Regions from separate parts of the Homo sapiens genome. Here regions 2, 3 and 4 are each linked to region 1. The links are contacts of gene promoters, found by promoter capture Hi-C in blood cells and fetal thymus (Javierre and others, 2016). All regions are on one chromosome and are shown on one strand. The core of a region is centred on a gene start or on the middle of the fragment in contact, and the rest is flanking DNA. Distances in the headings are between cores, read along the strand shown. Region 1 holds the start of ALKBH3 (alkB homolog 3, alpha-ketoglutarate dependent dioxygenase). Region 2 overlaps TTC17 (tetratricopeptide repeat domain 17). Region 3 has its middle 58 kb from the start of MIR670. Region 4 has its middle 3.4 kb from the start of MIR670.

Region 1 (2,846 bases), core at 155-2,654:
GAGAAATCGGCTAAGACTGTTTCCAAGCATATATTCCATTATCACTGGCTGCATCAAACTTCCCTGGAAGTTTGTTCAAAATACCTATGGCCCACCTTCAGAAAATCTGATTTAGGATGGATACAGGTATTTGTCTTTATAACAAGCAGTGTAAGATTTGACACAATGCAGGTATGTATGTGGACGGTAAAGTTCAATGATGCACCCAAAGCCACTCAGGAAATCAACAACAGACAGATTAACATTCAACTTATATTAAACTCCTGTCTCCAGCTAACGGATAAATCCACCTCATAATGGCTAATAATACTAATTTGACAGTTGTACCAGTAAAAGCTTAGCCTACAGCAAATGCAGAAGCACGTACAGCTACCAAAACAACAAGGAAATTCAAGCCACATGTTCCACATCTGTAATCTATTTCTTTATGCTTCTACCTAAGAAAGCTTCACACCTCAAGTTCTCAAAGGTAAAAGCTCGTTTTATATTAATAGCTTGCTTAGACTATAGATTCCCAGGTCCCATCTCCCACCTCTTCTGATTCAGTAGAGCTGAGCCAGGCCCAGGAATCTGTGTGTTTAACAAGTTCCCCCAGATGATAAGCATGTAATTCATTTCATTTAATAGGTGGAGAGACGCAGAGGCTGCCATCTGCCCAGAAGAGTTAATGACAATCAAATACCAATTCTCCAATCCCAGGAGCTCCCGTTTGACATGTTCTCTCAATTGAGGCCCTAAAAGCGTAACACAATTACCTACAGTCCCCGCAGAGGATACGACTTGCTCACCTTCTTGCTCCATTCACTGGGGAGCCATATGTTATTTGCCAGGGAACAATTGTTGAAAATAGATTCCAGAGCCCCATCCCAGATCTACTCAATTTGTAGAGTCCCAGAATTTGTTAACTAACGCCACCCTCAACCCAGGAATTCTTAATGCACATAAAGCTTGAGAACCAGTGCTGTAAAATACAAGGACTCTGGCGCCAGCCAGAACTCGCTTTGAATCCAGATCTGTCACTTCCCAGCTGCATGGCCCATGGCAAATGACTTCACCTTTCTGAGCCCCAGTTTTTCCTCAGTAAACAGGGCAGTCACTTTCCGCACGGTTGAGGTGCAGACTAAGCGAGCTCCGCAGGTGGAAGAGCTTGGTCGTGGATAAGGGCACTTCCTTTTCCTAATTTAGATCCTTCTCTTTAAGGAGGCCTAGAATGAGGCCCCGGAGGTCGCCCAGGAAGAGACTTCAGGGGTGGTACTCGCACCCCCAGCCCCGCGCACCCAGCAGTAAGTCAGGAAGGCGCACTTGCGGGCGGAGCCGGGCGCGCCCGTGCAAACCCGGTAGGACTTGGGGCAGCCCTCGCAGCCCCTGACCCACTCCGCAGTCTGTGATCGGAACCTTAAGAGTGAAGCACCGACTCCAGCAACTCCCAATCACAGGCCGCGGCATCAGGCACTTCCTCTCGACGTTACGCAGCGCCGCCACTACTTCCGGTGCGCAGTCCTCAGTCCGGGTAGTCCCACATCCCCCGCGCCTGGAGGGCCTAATCACCGAAGGTGCTGATGAGGGGATATGTGTTGCAGCGGACAGGGATTGAGAGTGCAGGGGAGCGGTGTGAAGGGGTCGGGGTTTGGCAAAGGTGGAAGTGAAGGCGTGTCTCCTACGTGAGTTCCTCGAAACTGGAGATGTCCAAGCATCGGCATCTTTGTGGCAGAAAGAGTGACCGGGTCCCTGTGGGACTAGATAAAGGGAGAGGAGTTTGGGGGACCTGGTTATAATGTGTTAGGCAAAAGGATTTGCATTTTATCCTAAAAACCACGGAGAGCCTGAAATGAGCCTCCTTTGTGTTCCTATTGCAGCCTGTGCACACCTCCGAACACAGCATTTACAGCAGGGCGTAGGACCACGCCTTAATTCACCTTGGCTCTCTCCAGTGCTAAGCAAATTTGCTTGAGTGAACAGACCTACATTTTGGCCCAGACACCACCACTTACTAGTTGTATAATCTAGGGCAAGTACTCTGCCTCTTTTTAAAATGGGTATCGCTCTTTTTGGGAGGATTAAGTGAGATAATGCATTTAAAGAATATAGCACAATGCCTGGAACACAACAAAAACTCAAAAAATGAAAAAGAGCTCACCCCATTTGAGCTCATGAGAAACATCTTTAAAATGGTCATGTTAAACCATGTACTTTACAGTATGAAAATAGCAAAAGTAGCACTGAATTGACTGTTTTATGCAAGTCATTCTCTAAGATCCGCCAAAGTATAGTCACTGTGGAAATCTTTAAAATAAGCCTGATATGAGTGTTTACCTTCAGGAAGCTCATTATAGGTACACCTCATCAATGTGTACCTATATTGTTGCTACTATCAAATCCATTTTCACAGCACTCATTATTATTTGTTATACTTTGTGACACTGAAGGAAAAAAATGATTTATCCTAGACCTGAAAGGAGAGAAAATGCTAAGGCCACACTACAGTTTTTTTCCCCCATCAACTAATTTGTCAATGTCTGCTTCTGGCTCAGGAACTTTGGCTGTATCTTCTAAAATATGTTATTTCTTTCTTTTCAATGATTATAGTTTTGGAACAGGAACAAAGAAGTCTGGATTGAGGAGTTCCTAAAAGTAGTGATTGACACCTCTTCAGCCTCTACGTAGTGTATTTCTCAAAGATCAATCCATGATTTACTTGCATCTGAAATTACTGCTTTTTTTTTGTTTAACAGAATCACCTGCGTTTTTAACAAGCACCCAAGTGATTCTGGTGCACAAAAATTTTGAAAACCTCTAGGACATATGTAGGATGACAAATTGTTCTGGTTTGTATGGGCCTGAGGAGT
Region 2 (2,846 bases), core at 95-2,594, 510 kb after region 1:
ACTTCTGAGCAGTTATGTTGTTCATGGCAAAATCAGCCCTCTTTATCCTTAAGCTACTTAATACTAAGAAAATCTTTTTTAGAATTATAAACTAAATATATTTTACTGTAAAAACAAACACAGTACCATATAGACAATATGAAGGAGAAAATAAAAATTACTTGAAATTTCACTTTCAGAGATATCTGCTGTTAGATATATATCATGTCAGGATAACTTCTACATACATACACAAACACAGAGCTTTGTAGGTAAATATTTTCACAAAAATACGATAATAATATATCTACTATATTATTTCCTTCCTCTCTCTATTCCTCTGTACATTTTGTCAGACTTCCCAGTAAATACAGACCTATGTCAATATTTTTAGTGGTTAATATTATTTACCCAGGTTCCTAACTAAAATTCAGGTTTTTGGTTATTCTCCCTTTTTAACAATATTACAATGAACATCCTATACTAAAACTTTTGGCTGGGCGCAGTGGCTCACACCTGTAATCCCAGCACTTTGGCAGGCTGAGGCGGGTGGATCACCTAAGGTCAGGAGTTCAAGACTAGCCTGTCTAACATGGTGAAACCCCATCTCTATTAAAATTACAAAAATTAGCCAGGCGTAGTGGCACATGCTTATAATCCCAGCTACTTGGGAGGCTGAGGCAGGAGAATCGCTTGAATCCGGGAGGTGGAGGTTGCAGTGAGCCAGGCACTCCAGCCTGGTCAGTAAGAGTGAAACTCTGTCTCAAAAATAAATAAATAAATAAATAAATAAATAAATAAAAAATAAAAATAAGTTAGCTGGATGTGGTGGTAGGTACCTGTAATCCCAGCTACTCGGGAGGCTGAGGCAGGAGAATAGCTTGAAGCCAGGAAGTGGAAGTTGCAGTGAAAGGAGATCATGCCACTGCACTCCAGCCTGGGCGACAAGAGTGGCTCCTTCTCAAAAAAAAAAACCCATGAACCTTTTTAGACAGCTATCAGATTATTTCTTTCCTGTAACAGAAAGAAAACCGTTAGGTTAAAGGAACTATACTATTTTTTTGCATTTGTAAATTTACAGTTTTTGCTAGCTTTTCTCCAGAACAGTTGAATCAACTTAAATTCCTAACAACAGTGACTGAGTTCCTACACATCCTTAGGAATGCAGAAAAAAGGGTGAATATATACATTTTTTCTTTCTTTTTTGTTTAAAGAGATAGGGTCTTGCTCTGTCACCAAGGCTAGAGTGGACTGGTGTGATCATAGTTCACCGTAACCTTGAATTCCTGTGCTCAAGCAATCCTCCCACCTCAGCCTCCGGAGTAACTGGGACTACAGGTGAGCTGCTGCGTCAGGCCATGAATACATTTCAGTCTCTTCCTTGGCCATATGTATTTCTTTTGTGTATGTGATATTGTAAAATATATATTTGGTCTTCCACCCCACCCACCTTTTCTTGGCATACAACTCCTAAAATCCTTAGAATCTCCAAAGTGCTGTCTTTTTGTACAGTAGTGAGTTGACTGATGGCTGGCAGCTCCTAGGTAGTTTCAGGATCAGGGCAGGTCCCTGGAAAGACTAAGGCATGATTAGGACTTTCAGCCCCACCCCTTAACCTCTGGTGAGAGAAGAGGGGCTGAAGGTTAAGTTGACCACCAAAGGCCAATCATGCCCATGTAATAAAGCCTCCATAAAACCCCAAAAGGACTGGGTTCAGGAGATTCCGGAGAGCCAAACATGTGGAAGTTCCTGGAGAGGGCATGGAAGTTCTACACCCTTTGCCCCATACGTCACCCTGTGCATCTCTTCATCTGTGTCTTTTCTAATATAATAAACCAGTAAACATAAGTAAGTTTCCTTGAGTTCTGTGAGCCACTCTGGCAAATTAATTGAACCCAAAGAGGCAGCTATGGGAGCCCCAACTTGAAGCTGGTTGGTTAGAAGAGGCTGGGACTGAATTGGGTGGGAGGAGTCTTGTGGCACTGAGCTCTTGACCTGTAGGATCTGATGCCACTGCCAGGTAGACAATGTCAGAACTGAATTGGAAGCCACCTAGCCTGTGGCAGCTGCAGAACTGACTGCTTGCTTGGTGGTGTCAGAAACATGTTGTAAGAGAACAGTGGGAGAAACTGAGATGTTTTTTCCATTCACAATGTACTTATAAAAAATCTCACCTGTGTGTGATGGTTCACACCTGTAATCTTAGCACTTTGGGAGGACAAAGAAAGATCACCTGAGATAAGTTCAAGACCCCCCCCCCCACCTCCCCTCCCCGAACAACATAGCAAAACCCCATCTCTACAAAAACAGTTTTTAGAAGTAGCTGGGTGTGGTGGCACATGCCTGTTTTAGCTACTTGAGAGACTGAGGTGGGAGAACCACTTGAGGAGTTTGAGGCTGCAACGAGCCATGATCGTGCCACTGCACTGCAGACTGGACAACAGAGACTCCATCTTAAAACAAACAAACAAACAAACAAACAAACAAACCTGCCCCCTCTCTTTAACTATCTGACAGTTTATATATCATATTTTAAGAATATGGTTTCTAGTTGATATGACTTTACGTGATTATTCTCTTCTTGTTTGTGTTTTCTAACTTTTTCTACAGTGAACATGTATTATTTAAATTTATAAAGTGTTCTTTTTTTTTAATGTGCTATCCACAGGTCATCTTGTTTGTTAACACTGAAACTTTAGAACACTACGTAACATGTTTTATCTTTTTTTTTTTTTCCTTAAACAAACTGTAATGACAAATATAAGCTTAGGTCTGAGGAAGAATCTTGTATTTTTCCCTCGTGTATTCACTTATAGAGAAAAAAAATTCCTCTCACAGATAAGGACCAAGGTAGAACATCTCAAAAA
Region 3 (2,846 bases), core at 151-2,650, 380 kb after region 1:
CTCCATGCCATGTAGAAACCCCAAGCTGAGAAACTAACATAAAAACATGTTTGGCCGGGTGTAGTGTCTCACGTCTGTAATCCCAGCACTTTGGGAGGCTGAGGCAGGCGGATCACCTGAGGTCAGGAGTTCGAGACCAGCCTGGGCAACATGGTAAAACCCTGTCACTACAAAACAAAATGAAACAAAACAAAAATATTAGCCAGGCATGGTGGCACGTGCCTGTAGTCCCAGTTACTCTACTTGGGAGGCTGAGGCAGGCGAGTCGCTTGTACCCGGGAGGCGGAGGTTGCAGTGAGCTGTGCCACTGCACTCTAGCCTGGATGACAGAGTGAGACTCTGTCTCAAAAAAAAAAAAAAAAAAGTTCGACTTTGTAGGGGATGCAGCAAAGACAACCTCAGAAACTTCTCTGTAGGGAAATGTCCTTGACCCCACATAATGTGTGAAAATACTTCAAGCATTAACTGCTGCTGAATAAGGACAAAAAATATAAAATATATGAGGAAGTTCAGCACTACTTATGTATGGATTCAGTCATTCATTCATTCAGCAGTTTTTTCTGGATACCTACTATGTACCTGGGGCTAGAGATATATCAGGGTACAAAATAGGTCCAAATCTTGCATTCTTAAAGCTTATGTTCAAGTTGGGGGTGACAGACAATATATAAGTAACATACACAGCAGACTTGATAATGATAAGAGCTACAAAGAGAAGTAAAGCATAAAAGGGGATTAGGAAATTGTGGAGGAGGATGTCACAATTTAAAATATCATGATTAGGGAAACCTCACAGAGAAGGTGAGCAAAGTGGCTATCTGGGGAAAGAGTATTTCAAGCTAAGGGAATGGCAAATGAAGATGACCTGAGGCATAAGCATGACTGGAAGTTTCAAAACACAGCCAGGAGGTCAGTGTGGCTGGAGGAGTGAGCAAGAGGGACATTAAAAGAGATGAAGCTAGAGAGGTGAGCCACATTGTGGAATAGGGTTTTATATGTTATTGCAAGCCAATAGTTTTAAGCAGAGGAATGACACGACCTGACTTATGTTTTAACAGGAGTCAATCAATAGTTACTCTGGGATTTTTTCTTTTTTTTTTGAGACAGTCTCGCTCTGTCACCCAGGCTGGAGTGCAGTGGCGTGATCTCAGCTCACTGCAACCTCCATCTCCCAGGTTCAAAAGATTCTCCTGCCTTAGCCTCCTGAGTAGCTGGGACTACAGGCATGTGCCACCATGCCTGGCTAATTTTCGTACTTTTTTTTTAGTAGAGACAGGGTTTTACTATGTTGGCCAGGCTGTTCTTGAGCTTCTGACCTCAAGTGATCCGCCTGCCTCAGTTTCCCAAAGTGCTGGGATTACAGGAATAACACACAGTGCCCGGCCTAGGATTTTTTTTTTGATCTGAATAACTAGATGGAGGGAGTTGCTAACTCATATGGGAAGACCAAAGTTAGATAATAATTTTGTGAGAAGATATGGAATTCTGTTTTGTACAGTCCATGTGAAGATACTGAGCAGAAAGTTGGATAAATGAATTTAGAGCTGATAGAGGACATTATGCTGGACATATAAATTGGAAGGTCATAAGCATGGAGATAGTATTTGAAACCATGTGACCAGATGATATCACTAAGAACATGAGAGAATATATTAGGCTGGTGCAAAAGTAATTGCAGTTTTTAGAGTAGTGATCCAAAGACTGAGAACTCAGAGGGTTACAAGGCTATAGGGTCAGACAGTCCAAATATCCAACAAACAGGAGAACTTACTCATAATGAACAAGAAATAATTGACCAAATTGAAAAGTAAGTATGCTGAAAGTGTTCAAGTAGTTAAGAGTAGCACCCATAACACAAAAAAAGATTATGAAACATGAGCAGATAGAAATGATGAAAAGGAACCAGGTAGAAATCATGCAAGTGAAAAATGTCATTACTGAAGTAAAAGTCTCAACGGATGAGTTGAACAGCAGGCTAGACACAGCTGAAGAGAAAGTCAATGAATCAGAAGACAGAATTGAAGAAATCCATCAAACTGAAAAACAGAAAGATAAAGAAAAATTTCCTCTATTTTTAGGAAATAGGTGTTTGTATTAAGTGCTGTCTTTGGGTGAAAGCCCCCCTTCTTAAAAGCCGGGGTCACTGTCCTAACCATTCAAGCTTTTGAGTCAGAATCCAGAAATGGAACCAAATCCATTTGTTTTTGTTTTTGTTTTTGTTTTGAGACAGGGTCTCAGTCCAGGGTTGGAGTTCTGTGGCATAATCAAAACTTACTGTAACCTTGAATTCCTGGGCTCAAGCAATTCAACCATTTCAGCCTCCTGAGTAGGCAGGACTACAAGTGTGTGCCACCACACTTGGCTAACTTTTTCTTTTTTTTTTTTCTAAGAGACAGGGTCCTGCTGTGTCACCCAGGATGATCTTGAGCTCCTGGTCTCAAGCTATCCTCCCATCTCAGTCCCCCAAAGTGCTGGGATTACAGGCATGAGCCACTGTGCCTAGCCTGGAACAAAATTCTTAGCAGAAAGGAAAAGGTAACTTATTTCTAGAATTAGGGAGTTAGTGGCAGGATTCAAGTCCTCTGCTAATAAGAAGAGCTAACATTTATTGGCTGCCTAGTGTGTTCCTGTCCCTGTTCAAAATACTTTACATGGGTCAGTAGCAGTGAGTGGCTAGGGGATGGGCTGAGAGGACAGGGAGTACCTCTGTAGATTAAGTGAAGCAGCTTCTCTGCCTATCTGCTGGAGTTCTCCCTGATTTAGTTTTCCCTCTCTGTTTCATTAGCTCCTATTTGCAATCTCTTACCTTCAATGTTGCTATAGTTTCTCTAGGGTATTGTTGGGTC
Region 4 (2,846 bases), core at 120-2,619, 320 kb after region 1:
AAAGTAGGAGTTTTCAGGGAATGAAGTGGCTATTTTGATCTTCCCTTGTCCCTTATATCATTTCCCAAATCTATGCAAATATAGAGAAGTATGTAGAAGCAAATAACCTTTGTAGTGAATTGGAATCCTCAATCCTGCCCCAGACCTGAGGCTAGGATGAGGCTACTCCCTGCAGAGCAGGTCTTCTCTGGCTCTCTGGTTATTAATACTCAAGATGTGGTGGTCAGGGTAAGTCCTATAGTTCTAGGACCCATACACTCTAAAATAATCAGCCCATGGGCTCCTAATGGAATGAATTGGGCCAGGCACGGTGGTGCACACTTGTAATCCCAGCACTTTGGGAGGCCAAGGCAGGAGGATCACTTCAGTCTAGGAGCTTGAGAATAGCCTGGACAACATAGCAAAAAATAAAAATAGCCAGGCATGGTGGCGTGCACCTATCTTTCGAGGCTGTAGTGAGCGATGATTGTGCCATTGCATGCCAGCCTGGGTGACAGAGCAAGACCTCATCTCTAAAAAAAAAGAAAAAAAAAGAATGTATTGCAGTAAAACATAAAAGAAGGCTGTTCTTCTCACTAAATATTACTAATGACCACTGGGACTAAAACTCTCTGGATCTTATTTTTTAAAGACAGGATCTTGCTCTGTCACCCATGTTGGAGTGCAGTGGCACGATCATAGCTCACTGCAAGCTCGAATTCCCAGGCTCAAGCCATCCTCCTGCCTCAGCCTCCAGAGTAGCTGGGTCTACAGGCATGTACCACCATGCCTGGCTAATTAGAAAAAAAAATTTAGTAGAGATGAGTTCTTGCCTTGTTGCTCAGGCTGGTCTCGAACTCCTGGGCTCAAGCGATCCTCCCACCTTGGCCTCCCAAGGTGCTAGGATTACAGTGGTGAGCCACTGCATCTGGCCAAAATATGGATCTTAATAGATGGAACTTGTTCTTTCACGACTGGTACTTCCACACCAATTAACACATTCACATCAACTCATGGGTGAAAGAATTCTTAACAGAATGGGACACTGAGCAGATAAATTTGGAATAGGAAACAGAAGCCTATGGTGGCTTATTGTTCAGGCGAGGGCTTTATCATTGCATAACAACCCAGGATTGGTAAGGGTCCTACCCAAAGGAGAATGTGGACTTTTAAAAGCCTCTCTCATCTCTGGACTACGAGTGCTACAATGGCAAGCAGCATCCATGTTTTAGTTATCACTGGATCCTGAGAATCTAGTGTATGGCCTTCCATAATGGGCCATACAGAAGTTCGTGTTGAGTTCCCAATTTTAATAAGTCCGTAGGGGCTAGGTAAGGGATTACTTTCTTCTGTCCTCCACTAGGAGATGAAGTCATGGCAATACAAGACCTGGGTGAGGAGTAGATAGTGATACCTGCCTCCAGAGAATCACTGAGGGGCTCTCACAGCATTCAAGGAGGACTTGGAACATCTACTTCAGCTGAGGGAAGACTCAAGTCTTCCCTCTAGGCTTCTGTGAGTCAAATGCAGATGATCTTCTCCCACCCACACTTGAGGTCCAGATCTGTGCTATGCATTGACTGAGTCCCTTTCTCCTTACCTGAAGTTGGGAACTTCTGGGACAAAAGAGTTGAGTTCCTAGTTGAAGTGAAAGCTCCAGGGAAGTTGCCTAGGCCTGTCCCTTGCTTGGTAGGGCCAATGGCTTTCAGTAAAGTATAGGGAAGATAGACTTTACCTTGTGTATGTGGAAGAGTCTAAGAGGTCTCTGCTAATTTCAGAAAAGGAAGAATCTACCCAAGCAAGAAAAAGCATATGGTAGAAATGCCATCCCACACCATGCCTCATAAGATGTTCCCAAGTCATTTTTCTGATGCTTCCCTGGTCCAGAGGTATAATAGCTAAAATAATAATAAAAAATAAAAGTGATAGACATTTGGTATGTGCCAGGCACTGAGCCAAGCCTTGCAAATATCAACTCAATGAATCGTCACAATAACTTTTTGAGGTAGGTCCCCATTTTAAATGTCAAGAAACTGAGGCTTAGAGAGTTTAAATAACTTATCAAAAGTCACATAACCAACCACATATAAGAGCTAAGAAAGATTTGAATGCACGCCTTCTTGGCTGCAAAGCCTAAACTATCCACAGTTACACTGTACTCAGGATGCCATCCAGCCTATCAGAGACCTATGCCTACTCCTATTGCTGAGTGAGATGGGAAAGAGAAAAAGGCAGGATTTAAAAAAATTTTTAATATCTGCCTTTGTGCACACACATATTACAGAAACACATGTATCACTTACTTATCTAGAGTGCTTTAAAATGAGCCAACTCACTTCTGATTTCATTCTCAAAATAACTGTGTGGGGTAGCTATTATAATGTGAATACTCCCATTGTTTAGGTATGATAAGCAGTTTACGAAGAAGCGAAATAATTTGCCCAAGAGCATACATCCACATGGTTGCTTGAACCTATGTGGTTTGATGCCAAATTCATAGCTCTTTCACTATAACATAGTGCCACAATAATGAGACATACTCTGAGTCAGCTAACATTTATTAAACACCCACCATGGGTCAAGCACCGTGCTAGGCTCATTTGTAAACAGTCAATCATTATTCATTGATTGGTCTTCCAGTCCACTAACTGGACTGTCGCTGCAGCAGTCTCCAAGTCTAGTAAAGGTTTTATAAAATAATAAGCAAGAATAATTCTTTTTCTTTTTCTTTCTAGGTACTGTCAGTAGCCTAGACCAAGCTAAATATTTCTCAAAAAAAAAGGGTGTTTGTGTCACTTGAAGGAACAGGCTAGAAAGGAAAGCTATATTAAGCTTGAAAAACACAACTCTCAAAAACTCTCAAAGTC

What was found. Contacts are between HindIII fragments. The CHiCAGO score rates a contact against its expected background, and 5 or more counts as called.
Region 2: a fragment that was not itself captured here is called in contact with the fragment with the promoter of ALKBH3 in region 1 in 2 of 17 cell types (neutrophils and total B cells); the score reaches 7.5 in neutrophils.
Region 3: a fragment that was not itself captured here is called in contact with the fragment with the promoter of ALKBH3 in region 1 in 4 of 17 cell types (M2 macrophages, neutrophils, monocytes and 1 more); the score reaches 9.4 in M2 macrophages.
Region 4: a contact is called between a fragment that was not itself captured here and the fragment with the promoter of ALKBH3 in region 1, in 2 of 17 cell types (neutrophils and erythroblasts). The highest score is 11.9, in neutrophils.

What each region holds. Positions count from the first base shown.
Region 1 is chr11:43,879,389-43,882,234 of GRCh38, reverse strand. It overlaps ALKBH3 (alkB homolog 3, alpha-ketoglutarate dependent dioxygenase), which reads right to left and starts at 1,404. Exons shown (of 10, transcript NM_139178.4): 1 at 1,056-1,404. It overlaps LOC105376644 (a long non-coding RNA gene), which reads left to right and starts at 1,498. Exons shown (of 3, transcript XR_001748200.2): 1 at 1,498-1,553. RefSeq lists an enhancer at 1,419-1,618. The HindIII fragment of the contact is 7,136 bases long and covers 950-2,846 here.
Region 2 is chr11:43,370,418-43,373,263 of GRCh38, reverse strand. The region is part of intron 1 of TTC17 (tetratricopeptide repeat domain 17); the gene reads right to left. Among named protein-coding and RNA genes, the nearest start is that of TTC17, 13 kb to the right of the region's middle. The HindIII fragment of the contact is 2,804 bases long and covers 1-2,746 here.
Region 3 is chr11:43,500,086-43,502,931 of GRCh38, reverse strand. No RefSeq gene overlaps it. Among named protein-coding and RNA genes, the nearest start is that of MIR670, 58 kb to the left of the region's middle. The HindIII fragment of the contact is 1,526 bases long and covers 638-2,163 here.
Region 4 is chr11:43,561,600-43,564,445 of GRCh38, reverse strand. It overlaps a transcript of HSD17B12 not described here. Among named protein-coding and RNA genes, the nearest start is that of MIR670, 3.4 kb to the right of the region's middle. The HindIII fragment of the contact is 2,889 bases long and covers 1-2,813 here.